Linked DNA regions of Homo sapiens: region 1 is linked to region 2. Evidence: promoter capture Hi-C in human tissues and cell types (Jung and others, 2019). All regions are on one chromosome and are shown on one strand. The core of a region is centred on a gene start or on the middle of the fragment in contact, and the rest is flanking DNA. Distances in the headings are between cores, read along the strand shown.

The links. Contacts are between HindIII fragments. The study calls those that stand out against the background at their distance.
Region 1: a fragment that was not itself captured here is called in contact with the fragment with the promoter of FAM78B in region 2 in 3 of the 25 tissues and cell types used here (heart right ventricle, mesendoderm cells and thymus).

The regions. Positions count from the first base shown.
Region 1 is chr1:166,474,395-166,480,559 of GRCh38, reverse strand. LINC01675 (long intergenic non-protein coding RNA 1675) reads left to right here. Exons shown (of 3, transcript NR_146890.1): 2 at 3,591-3,679; 3 at 4,356-4,788. It also overlaps the pseudogene FMO7P. Among named protein-coding and RNA genes, the nearest start is that of LINC01675, 13 kb to the left of the region's middle. The HindIII fragment of the contact is 3,902 bases long and covers 1,808-5,709 here.
Region 2 is chr1:166,165,021-166,170,986 of GRCh38, reverse strand. It overlaps FAM78B (family with sequence similarity 78 member B), which reads left to right and starts at 3,986. Exons shown (of 2, transcript NM_001017961.5): 1 at 3,986-5,001. The coding sequence starts at 4,739. LOC112268276 (a long non-coding RNA gene) reads right to left here and starts at 5,110. Exons shown (of 3, transcript XR_002958633.2): 1 at 4,933-5,110. RefSeq lists enhancers at 732-811, 4,726-4,775, 4,876-5,045, 4,217-5,119 and silencers at 1,652-1,711, 3,746-4,235, 4,276-4,335. The HindIII fragment of the contact is 7,560 bases long and covers 1-5,966 here.

The DNA.
Region 1 (6,165 bases), core at 2,509-5,008, 310 kb before region 2:
ATAACTTAACCTTTTTTATTGCTTATTCTGATCATTAAGCACCTTAATTACTGCTCAAATGCTATAATGCAGTTTTAATGACTCCTCCCTGTGTTGTTCATTATTATAGCTCTTGTCACTGAATCTGCAGCCAGCAGTATTTCCCTTCTCACTTGTGGTTCTGGCCTGTCAAACCAGACAACCCATGGTTAGAATTATCTGTAAAGTAAGGGCCAATAAATACTGAGTGGTGGCGGGTGCCTGTAGTCCCAGCTACTCGGGAGGCTGAGGCAGGAGAATGGCGTGAACCCGGGAGGCGGAGCTTGCAGTGAGCGGAGCTGAGATCACGCCACTGCACTCCAGCCTGGGCAACAGAGAGACTCCGTCTCAAAAAAAAAAGACTTGGAAAACTAACACTTTACAATCTTTGGTGGTGTGACTATGTACTTTTCCTGCTAATCTATAGGCTTCACAAGATCAAGTACTTTGTCCTTTACCTATCTAAACCCCAGCAGTGCCTGGTGCTCCTGGGCTCTCTCACCTTCTTGATCTTCTAAACTCTGCCAGTCTTCAGTCCTTAATTAGCATAACCATTTCCAAGCTGGGGATCCTAAATCTTAAATTTGCAAAGGGCTGGGATCAGCTTCCCTCACTTTTACTTCTCAATTCACTCTCTAGTATCCTCATCCAATTTCATGCTTAAGCAATTTGCTTCTGTGTGAATGAACCCTAAATAAATATCTCTACACAAACCATTTAAATTAATCCCTATGCATTTCCTTTGTCAAGTCAGTGATCATTGCTTACATCTGTAAAAAGAAAAAAAAAGTTGATTATTTCTTTTATTCTTAGGTTGAAATGTAAGCAAATCTTCTAGGAAGGAGATGTCGATTTTAGTACGAGCCTTTTAAGTAATTTCCTGCCTTCCTTTACACTAACTATTAATGTCTTGGACCCTCAGTTTTCTTGGCTGTAAAATATGGGGGTTGAACTAAATAATTTCTTCAGCAATGCCAAGCTTTAAGATGCTATAATATTTTATTGATTACAGGAATTTAACCTCATTTAATTGGCTCAAAGAACTACTATCAGAATTTCTTTAAAATAATATTGTTTTATTTGTCGTATTTTTCAGACTTTTTTTGCTCTTTACATTGGATATTTTTAGTGATAAAATATTTTACACATGCAAAAAAGTAAAGAGAATCATACAACAGACACTTGTATCATGTATGATAATGTACCTGGCACACAGTAGGTGAATAATAAGTACTCTTGAAAGAATGATCTGGACCATCAGAGATAACTACAGTTGCTATAAAATAGCTGTGATTTTCCCAGAATGGCCAGCAGAGGGCGGACTTGCACATTGACAAAACTGACCCTTGGTTTAGGTAAATTACCTTGGTGTCTTAGCTCCCCTGGTACAAATTAATTATTGTGAAATTGTTTAGCACATAGCCAACAGCTGATCTATCTACCCCTTGTTAACCACATTAAATGAACACAACTACTGTTCACAGATTGTTCAGAGACTTCAAAGTCAGTGCATTGTCAAATAACAGTTTGGAAAATTTGCAGTATTTAAACCGCCTATCTAGATCACTCTAAATCTCCCCAAATCTTCTTTGCCAGTTGTAGCTATATTTCTAAACCTTGTCATTAGGAGTAGCAGAGTGATGGTCTGAATTAATTATCAAAGTTGCTGAATATTTTGTTTCACTAGTTAAGTATTGTAATCTCACTCTCGATCTGTTAACAAAATATATATAACCCCCTCACCCCCCCGCCACACACATGCATATCCATTCTTTATGCCCAGAGGAAGCCACTGTTAACGGTTACTTGAATCTTTTTTGAAATTGCATATGCACATATAACCATAGATATATAGGTTTTTTTTTTTTTAACCATAAATGGGATCACAAATGCCTGGAGTCCTATAATGTAATTTTTTTTAATAACCATGTAATCATCTACAATATATCTGTGTTAACTAGTAGAGATCTTGGCAGAGAGCAAACGACCTGAATATTTCTGATCTGATTACTGGGAATCCATTTGGCCCAGCCAACACACTTAATCCTTTGTTGTCTCTTGTGTGTAGATAAGGTGTTTTCAGTGGGAAGCCATAAAAATAACCCCTGAATCTTGGTTATCCTATACTTTGTGCCTCTCCATGCAGGTGGAGGATTACCACAACAACAAGATGCAGCTGTAAGAAAATAGGCTTGCTTTGCAGTGTGGCTGAGCACCACAGCCAGATCAGAGCCAGAATTTCCAATGCCAGTCATGAGGATTCTGTTTCCCATAAATCCCTCTAAATTTTATATTTCTCACTGTGGAAATATTTGCCTTTGAATTTCTCAATCTCTATTTAAGGAAAATAAATGGAAAATAATTGTTTAGATTCAAGAAATGCAAAGGTTACTTTAGCTTTTGCATTGCATTTGTGCAGTCTAACAGTAAACCCATTTTATAACTAGAATTTATATATAGTACCATGTTCAACTTCTTTTACTACTGGTCCTTCTGTGTCAGAGATCCATAATCCGTGGGCCATGGACTGGTACTGGTCTGTGGCCTGTTAGGAACTGGGCTGCACAGCAGGAGGTGAGCGGTGGACTAGCAAGCAAAGCTTCATCTGTATTTGCAGCCACTGCCCATTGCTTGCATTACTGCCTGAGTTTTGCCTCCTGTCAGATCAGTGGTGGCATTGGATTCTCACAGGAGTGCAAACGCTATTGTGGACTGCACATGTGAAGGATCTAGGTTGCATGCTCCTTATGAGAATCTAATATCTAATGATCTGTTACTGTCTCCTATCCCTTGAGATGGGACCATCTAGTTTCAGGAAAACAAGCTCAGGGCTCCCACTGATTCTACATGATGGTGAATTGGATAATCATTTCATTATATATTACAATGTAATAATAATAGAAATAGAGTGCACAATAAGTGTAATGCATTTGAATCTTCCCCAAATCATCCCCACCCCACCCCACTCTGTGGAAAAATTGTCTTCCACAAAACTCTTCCCTGGTGCCAAAAAGATTGGAGACCACTGCTCTATGTTACACCAACATTAACTGATACTAACAGAAATCTTATTTACCATAGTAAACACATGAAGTTATTTTATATACATTTTCACAGAGCAAGTTCATTTTGGTAATACCCAAATCCATACAGCATACTATGTTTTTTCTATCATTATCATCATGGACTCTCAAAATTGGAAAATGAGTCCATCTGGTCCAATTTTACATCATATATTAGCAGAGACTTGCTATGCAAAATTAACCCACAGACCGGCAGTAGCAGCAGCAGCAGCACCAGAGAACTTAGGCAAAGGCAAATTCAATTCAGAGGACCCACTCCACACATGTTGAATTGGAATTTTGGGGAGTTGGAACTAATAATCTGATTTAACAAGGACTTTGGGTGATTCTTGCCATACTAAAGTTTGAGAACCATTGATCTATAAACTCCTCATTAATGATCATTAGTTTCTGCTTAAATATTTCCTTAATTAGGAAATCTACTACTTCACAAGGCAGACCGTTTCATTTTAGATCATTACTTCTTGTTGGAAATCCCTTCTTATTTAGATCCAAGTCGACCTTCCTGGAGCCTCTATCCACTACTTGTTTTGCTCAACAAGAACACACATCGTGTTGACTCCATCTTTTATATGATGGTGAGTTGTGGTCAAACACAGCTATCCTGCTCCTCTTCCTCCCTCCGTGAGTGTCCTCCTCCCCCAGTGAATGTCCCTCTCAGGTTAAATAACTTTAGTGGTTTTTAAATGTTCACCAAGCTGCATTTATCTCTTTAATATTCTTATTGTTCTCCTTTAATGAAGTTCCCTTTTGTCACCATTCCTTCAAAGTGAAACACTTCAAAGAGTACAATAAAAAATAAATAAATAAATTTTTAAAAATAAATTTAAAATGAGAACAGAACATAATCCTTTAAGTGTAGTCTGACAACACTTAGAGGGGGGTAAAACAGATAGATACCTTTGTTGAAAAGTAAGTGCTATTTTTGGTTTGGGCTTGGACATTCTGATTCTAACAGGCTTTTTCCTTTATAAAACTGAAATCTCTACAGAAGTCAGGTTTTCTTCTAAAAGGGGTTATTTATTTGGGTTAGTGACTTATTGTTTGACATTGTCAAGATAATTTTAAATTTGTTTTACTTAACCACAGACTGTTATAAAGGAGAGGCATTTCCTTTGCTTTGCATAAATCATCCCTCCACCATTAGGATTCCCCAAGATAGGAAAGTTACATACCTAGGTAAATGAGGGTCAGTCTGATGACCACTGCAGCCCATAACTGTGCCAGAGACAGATGACCTTTGCTTCCCCTCAGCCTCACCACAATGTTCCATTGGCCAGTGCAAGAGAAACCAGGATGCTTCCTCATACTGCACATCTTTATCTGAGAACCAAAGGACAAATATGGGTGTCACATGCCAGCTCCTTCTACCTCCTTCTGAAACCAGAGGACTGGATTGGAACCAACAGAGATCATGCTGTTTACTTCACAGATTTCAAGAAAAGTGAATTCTGAGTAATCATTTTTTTTTAGATCTTCCTATGTGTAAAAATCTTTGGTGAGATTTACCATCTCATTTAAAGTTCTTTCACAATTTTTGTGAAAATTGAGTGATGTGTAATAAATAAGTTATTTTTTTTCTTTATAGCTGATGCTTGACCTTTTTTCCCTTGGTAATATAGCTTACGAAGCAGATATATATGCCAATACACCCTTGATTTTAAGTCTTTCAAATAGAAGAACATAGGGATAAACTGACACATGAGAGATGGATAAATGTACGGACACATACATGTTCAACAGTTGTTGTTTTGGGGATTATGCCACAGAGTCATCAAATGCTGTCTAACACTAAATTAGATTTTCCTGTGAGGTTGTAAGCAACCTGTTGTGGGAAGTAATCAAGCAGGGACTAGATATCCATCTATCAGAAAAAATGAATTTCTAGAGAGATATGGCATAGCCTTTCCAAATTTAAGGTTCCATGAGTGTAGAGAAATGAGGATAATGACTGTTAATGGTTAGTGTTTACCTTAGGAAAGCCACCAATCTAAGTATTCTATCTGCACTAACTCATTTAATCCAGAAAGAGATGGCTCCGAAAAGGGAATTTTAACAATACTCTGCCTTTCTGCAAAGAAAATGCCAAGTGAGAAAGTTGTATTGTTGATATACACACATATTCACAAAAGACCGCTATATAGGGAATAAGCTTTTGCAAATAAACACACTATTGCCTCTAAATCAGTGAGCAGTATTTCTAAACCAGGAGATTTAATCTTCTGAAATTTCATGAAAAATATTGTATTTATGTGCCCATTTCTGGAGAAAGGTGACAATTGCCCTCATCAGCTTTGCGCTCAAAGGTCAAAATAATAATAATTATAAAAAACTTTAAAGCTTACCCAGAAACAGATGTATTTCACAAGGTCAATGTATTATATATTTCAAAATAACTAAAGAATATGATTTTAAATGTTCTCACCACAAAGAAATGATAAATATTTGAGGTGATAGACACACTTATTCGCCTGATTTGATCATTCCACAATTTATGAGTGTATTGAAACATCATATTGTGACCCAAATATGTATAGAATAATTGTTTATCAATTCAAAATAAAACTGTTTTTAAAAGTGCTTGGCATATATCCTCAAATGCTGCAGGAGCTATGGGTTTTACATGTTATTTGGAAAGTGATGGAGTATGAGAAGTCACTGAAGCAGGTCATTTACTTCTAAGTGTTGATGGTCAAAGATTGGTAGATGCTGGGCTTTCCTTCTTCTGTCTGCCCATGTACTTGGCCTAGCTTCACTATTTGGGACTTGCATTCTCTGAACAAGTGACTGTTCTTCAGTGAGCTGTCAGGAAAATGGGGTTGCAGTAATACTGGCTCTATCTACTTTTTGTAAGGACCACATTGAAAGTAAAAAGCTTAGTAAAATGCTAGGAAGACAGCTAAGCATTGAACAAATATGATTCCTTTGGGGATTTATCTATGTACAATTTCAAAAATAGAGGCAATATGAGCAAGTTCAGAGGCAAAGCACAGAATAGCTTGGCATCTAACTAGAAGCACTTCCTGTAACCTGCTGCCATATTTCAAGGTGCCCACCCACCCAT
Region 2 (5,966 bases), core at 2,737-5,236:
CTACAGCTAAAGGAGTGGATTGTAAAGGGGACACAGAGGCCAACATCCTGGAGAGTGCACAGCACAGCTCTAACTCAGGGAACTGAGGAGCTCTGTCATGCCCAAGAACATCAGAAGCTTGAAGTACAAAGGATCATTTGTTCTGTGCCCTGAGAATGAACTCCAATGAAGTTATTCACAAGGAATGATTGTTGTCAAGGTCTTGTCATTGGAGCTTTCCCATTTTCGTGGTGTCTAGAACTGATAACCCTTGAGATCATGTATAGTGCTCGAAGACAAAGGGCATCACTTAACATCAAGGAGCCACATTAAGAAAAGAGTGGGGGGACAAAGAGGTACAGTGCAGAAAGAATTAGAATAAAAACATATGCTTGCTGCAGGTATTGAGACAGAGCTTATAGGGAAGCTTATAGGGAATGTCAAGGGTCCATGTCTGTGAATCATGTTACATTTTATTGGCATTCTACTAAATATGATGTATGGGAAATGTTGTATTGGATTTTTAAGAATACTTTTAGTCATTCAAATGTTTATTGAGCAGCACCTAGGTGCCACGCACTAGGCTGGGCAACAGGGCACGATGGTGCATTCTCTTGAGGAGTGAACAGCTTATTGGGAGAGACAAGTGTGAGCAAGGAACTGTGAAACAGCTTTAAAGGTGTTAATAGAAGCAAGGGACTTACCATGAGGAGACAGAAAGAGAAACTTAGAAGAGCAGCACAGAGAAACTGTTGCAAATTCTGGGGATTTCATTTGAGCTACAGATAGCCCTGCATTGGCATTTGCAGACTGAATATGCATGAATGATAAAAACCCCCAGTGAGTAATCCAAAAGGTCCCTGTCATGAGGTAATTTGCTGAGACACAAATTTGAATGGGGCTGCCAGGAGGCCAGAGTGTACTTGCCAGCCACTCAGCTAGTGAATGACCACTCCTAACACTGGCATTTGTGTCCCAGTACCACTTAGCTCTCCTTACTTTCTCATCGACATCCGCACAATAATTCTCATACTGTGATCAATTTTTTCTTCACAGAGTCAGGGAAATAGGGCGTTAATAAGGTAAAGATATAAGGTAATGAAGTAAGAAGTTTATTTTAATGGCAAAATTTATTTAAGTAGCTTTAGAAATTACTTTGGCCCCATATTCATAGAACCATTAAGAGTCTAAAAAGATTCTTTACATTTTTCAGCTACACTTTACCGTACTTTATGGTGGAAATTATATGCCATGATGACATTCATGATTTTGGAGACTCACCAAGGTCATGGATGAACCCTCTGAGAATGTCAAGGGTCCAAGTCCATGAATAATGTTACATTTTATTGGCTTTACTAAATATAACAAAATCTTATTTTAAGTTTGAAAAATAAGATATTCTTCCTTATGTGATTTCCCTATATTTTGGGAAAGGCTGCCATTCCCCTCCCCGTTTATGAAGGTTTAACATGTGTCACCAGAAGACAAAGGAGTTATTTATCCACAAAACTGCAGCCTGACAAGCAACTCAAATTAAGAAACATAACTACATTCCCCAATGAAATGCTTTCCTTTTGGTCTATTGCCTGGAACCTAATAACCACTGAAACTCAAACTCTGACCCCACCCTGCCCCCCAAATACCTCCAAGAACCTCGAACTTAACATGACATCACCCACAGTCCCAAGCTGCTTCCCCTTCTATCACCTTGTTCAGTTACCAAGTAAATACATTTACCTCCTAAGTGATTCTTAAATGCAAATGCAGCCAGGCCTCTCCAGCCCCACAGCACTGCCCCAAGCTAGCCGAGGGTCAAAGTATCTGTCATCACAATATTCTGAAACGCTGCCTCCTCTATTCTCTATATGGATGCAGAGTAATTTTTCTCAAAATGCATGGCTTGCCTTCATTGGCTTCCACTGAAGTTTAAGATAAGGTCCTATCAAGAGAAGACACTGGGCCCTACTAGAGGGTGAAGGGTAGGAGGAGGCAGAGGATAAAAAAAAAATACCTATTGGGTACTATCCTCATTACCAGGGTGATAAAATAATCTGTCCAACAAACCCCTATGACATGCAATTTACCTATATAACAAACCTGCACCTGTACCTCTGAACCTAAAAGTTAAAAAAATTATTCACCAAACCCAGTGATCAAGGTTAATAACACCAGTAAAAAGTCATATTGCTATCATGTACCCCTGACATAATGCAATGAGAAGGCACTTCATCTTCATGGTATTCATCCCCCAAATCCAAAACCCTGGTCTAATCATGAGGAAACATCAGATAAATGCAAATGAGGAACAATTCTACAGAATATCTGACCAGTCCTCTTTAAAAATGTCAAGGTCATGAAAAACAGAGAAAGACTGAGAAGCTGTCACAGATTGAGAAGAATAAGGAGATGTAATGACTAAATGCAACATCATATCTTGGATTAGATTCTAGAGAAAAAAAGACATTAGTGGAAAAACTAGTAAAATCAAAATAAAGTCTGTAGTCTTAATTTTAAAAAGAAAAAAGATATGGTCTATCAACAACCAATTGATTCTTGGACAGTGATTCTGATGCCCATGGTCGACACATAACACCTTGAGAAATGCCTTGACTGTGAGTTGTTTCTCCCCCTCAGTACAGGATGAGTTCTTTCATATCTCTATGCATTTTGCATTTGCCAAATGCTGGTCCTGTACTACTCATTCACCTTTCTCTTTTCAGTGAGACTCTACAGTCTGTCAGTATTCAATTTAAATGTCACTACTTGAGCAAAGTCACACGTAAATCTCTCAGTGGCCAGAGAGCCACTGAGTGGCTCTCTGACCACTGAGGGATTTACATGTGGCCAGAGATTTACATGTCTGGCCTTCCACGGCACTGGATACACAACCCCACTAAAGCAGGTGTCACAGTTTACTATAATAACTTGTTAACAGGTTTATTTTCTCCAGTGATCCATGTGCTCTTTTTCAACTTTGAATCCCTAGTACCTAGCACTATGTTTGGCTCCTGCCAGGCAGGCAGTCAGCCTTTGCTGAATGAAAGGACCAGTGATTGAGGTCTGTGGCTACACGGTAAAATGAGAGAGACGAGTCATCAAAGGGAAAAACTGCTTTTTTGTTAACTATAAAGTGAACCAAGGTGTCAGAACAGTTAAAACAAGGATGAAGAGTGCTTTTAGATCTCAATCAATTTTTAAATTACTCGTCACACCTGTCCTAGCTAAAGACTAACTCTAGCACCTCCTGCGGCCTGTTAGTCAGTATTTCACACTTGGGCAGCAGATCCAGCAAATGTTCAATGATCGCAGAAGAAATACTTAGAAGCTATTGGCTTTGAAAATAAAAATGTAAGAAGATGCCTAGTAAAAGCATCTGCTAAATATTCTTCCTGTTTGGCACATTAGACTGCAGTATCAGACACATGACCGTGGTCATACTGTACACAATGCCCAATGTCTGCCAAAACTCTGGCATATGAGAGACTTAGTGCTGGAGTACGGAGGGATTCTTCCGGTATCCCCACTACACACAGTGGTGGAAAGAAGAGCTTCCAGAACAAACCCAGTCAGGCAAAGAGGCAAATACACTGCATTTAGTAACGCTGCTGGAGCCCGCCCTTCACCCTTTCTGAAGGTAGGATACTAAAAGGGCTCAAGCCTAAATCTAATCCAACAAGCTATATTCTGAATAACGACCAATCTCTGATAAAGCTGTTCCCCTAACCCTTCTGCTGCCCGAAACACTCACTCTACAGCCCCTACTGGGCTACCGGGTTCCCCACTGGACTCTGGACAGCGCCGCGCCCTGCTCGGCCTCACCCACCCGGTGGCGCTTGGGCCCGCCCTAGTCCCCCACCCCCACCCCAGGGCACCACCTACCAGGGCCCCGCCCCGCCTCAGCCCCACGTGCGGGGCCCCACCCCGGCGCTAGCGGCCCTTTAAACACCCCCACCCTTACACATTACCCCCCCCCCACCCGGACGGCAGCCGAATAGGGACAAAACTCATGGCGTACAGCCAGTTTCCTCCGCGGAGCACGTCCTGTGCTGCTCCAGCCGTTGGGGCTCTCCACCCCGGGCCACAGCCTCCTGGCGCCCCCCGGGCCGAGGCAGCCGGGCCGAGGAGTGTCGGTGTGGTCCGGCTACGGGGCGGGGCCGGCGGGAGCTCCGGTCGCCGCCGCCGCCGCTGCTGCCTCCGCCTGCCTCTTGGGCCGCCCGCTCGCCCGCCGCTGGGTGCGCTGCACGCGGGGGGCAGCCGTGGTGCAGAGGTTCATGCAGCGGCGGCGGCGGCGGCGGCTGCTGCTGCTGCCGCCGCGGAGGCAGACAGACCGGGCGCTGCCACCGCCGCCCTCCCCCGGCTCCATGCCGCCGCCGCTGCCGCCTCCTCCTCTCCGGCGAGGGGCGGGGGGCTCCGGCCCGGGGTGGGCACCATTCCTCGCAGCGCCGCTCCCCTCCCTGCCCTCCGCCCGGGCGCTGGAGCCGGCGAGGGCACCCGCCGCCTCCTAGGAGTGCACCCTCCGCGCGCCCTGCCGGAGCGAGGGGGCGGGCGTGGGCGGACGTCGGGGCAGCGGGGACCCCGCGCGGCTGCAAGAGGAGGGGGCTTCCCCAAGGATGCCCGGCGGCTCCCCGCTCCTAGGTGCGAGCTGAGTCTGACCGGGAGCGAGCGGCGCGTCGCCATGCCGGCGTGACGGGCGCCCCCGGCTGCCCGCGCGGGCCCCCGCGCTGCCCCACGCCGCGCCGTGCCGGCACCGGGCTGCAGGATGGGCTGTATCCAAAGCATCACCTGCAAGGCGCGGATCCGGCGCGAGAACATCGTGGTGTACGATGTGTGCGCCACCATCGACCAGTGCCCCACGCGCATCGAGGAGACCTCGCCCATCGTCCTGCGCTACAAGACCCCCTACTTCAAAGCCTCCGCCCGCGTGGTCATGCCCCCCATCCCCCGCCACGAGACCTGGGTGGTGGGCTGGATTCAGGCGTGCAATCAGATGGAGTTCTTCAACACCTACAGCGACCTGGGCATGTAAGCGACTCGCCGCGCGGCACGGGAGCGGACTCTGGGCCCCCAGCTCTGCTTGCCACCTTGACCCCCCTCCCCAGCTCCTTCCTACTGCTGTCCCCATCGTCTTTCTAAACCTTCCTCCCGCCTCCTCTCCCACCTCCCTCCTCCCTACGCTTTTGTTTCAGTGACAGGGCGGGTGTAGGGAGGCTCCTTGCGAAGGCATTTTCTCGTGGTTTGCTTCTGACTTCCCAGAAACGCGAGGAGAAAGGTGCGGGGCGGGAAGAACGCGACAAGGAGGGTTCGAGAGGCGGAGGTGGGGATGGCTGGCGAGTGCCTGGCGAGTTTCAGGGCGCCGTCTGTGCTTTGTGGGGCTCCCCGGGAAGAGTTTGGGGGAAACCATAGAGGAGTGGAGTGGAGTGCCGGGGGCGCATGGGCTGTGCCGCGCGTCCTTTGGAGAAACCGGAGCGGGCTTGGAAGAGCAGGTCCCGGGCATCCGAGCGGGAGTTGGTAGTTCTGTCCTTGCCCTCGCGACTGTTGAAGTTTCGAACCCTTGTCCCCCGGGCCAGGGAGCCCGGAGGCGTTTCCGTCTGGAACCACAAGCCGGACACAGTTGCCTCTCTGTTTCCGCGCCCCCTGGACCAGTTCTGGTGGGGAGCTGGAAGGCACCGAGTGCGTCCCGGCCAAGAAGGGCGGATAGCCTTGTGCGAGCAGCGTTCGGCTGGCGCGGCGCGGGGTGTTTCTTATGCTAAAGGAAAGGATGGATCTCTTGTCTGTCTAGGGTCCTTACTTTTTAAAACTTTCCTAATTGCGGCACTGGAAGGGATTCCCCTGGCGCCCACCGCCGAATTCTATCGGCGAGCTGGGAGCTCTCCAACTTTCAGCAGCGCCGGTTGGTGCGCGCCGGGCTTGGCTGCTGCGGTGAAGACCAAGGATCGCCGCGGCTCCTCAACCGCCAGGGGCCGCAGGCTACGGGCGGTCGCGTCCGG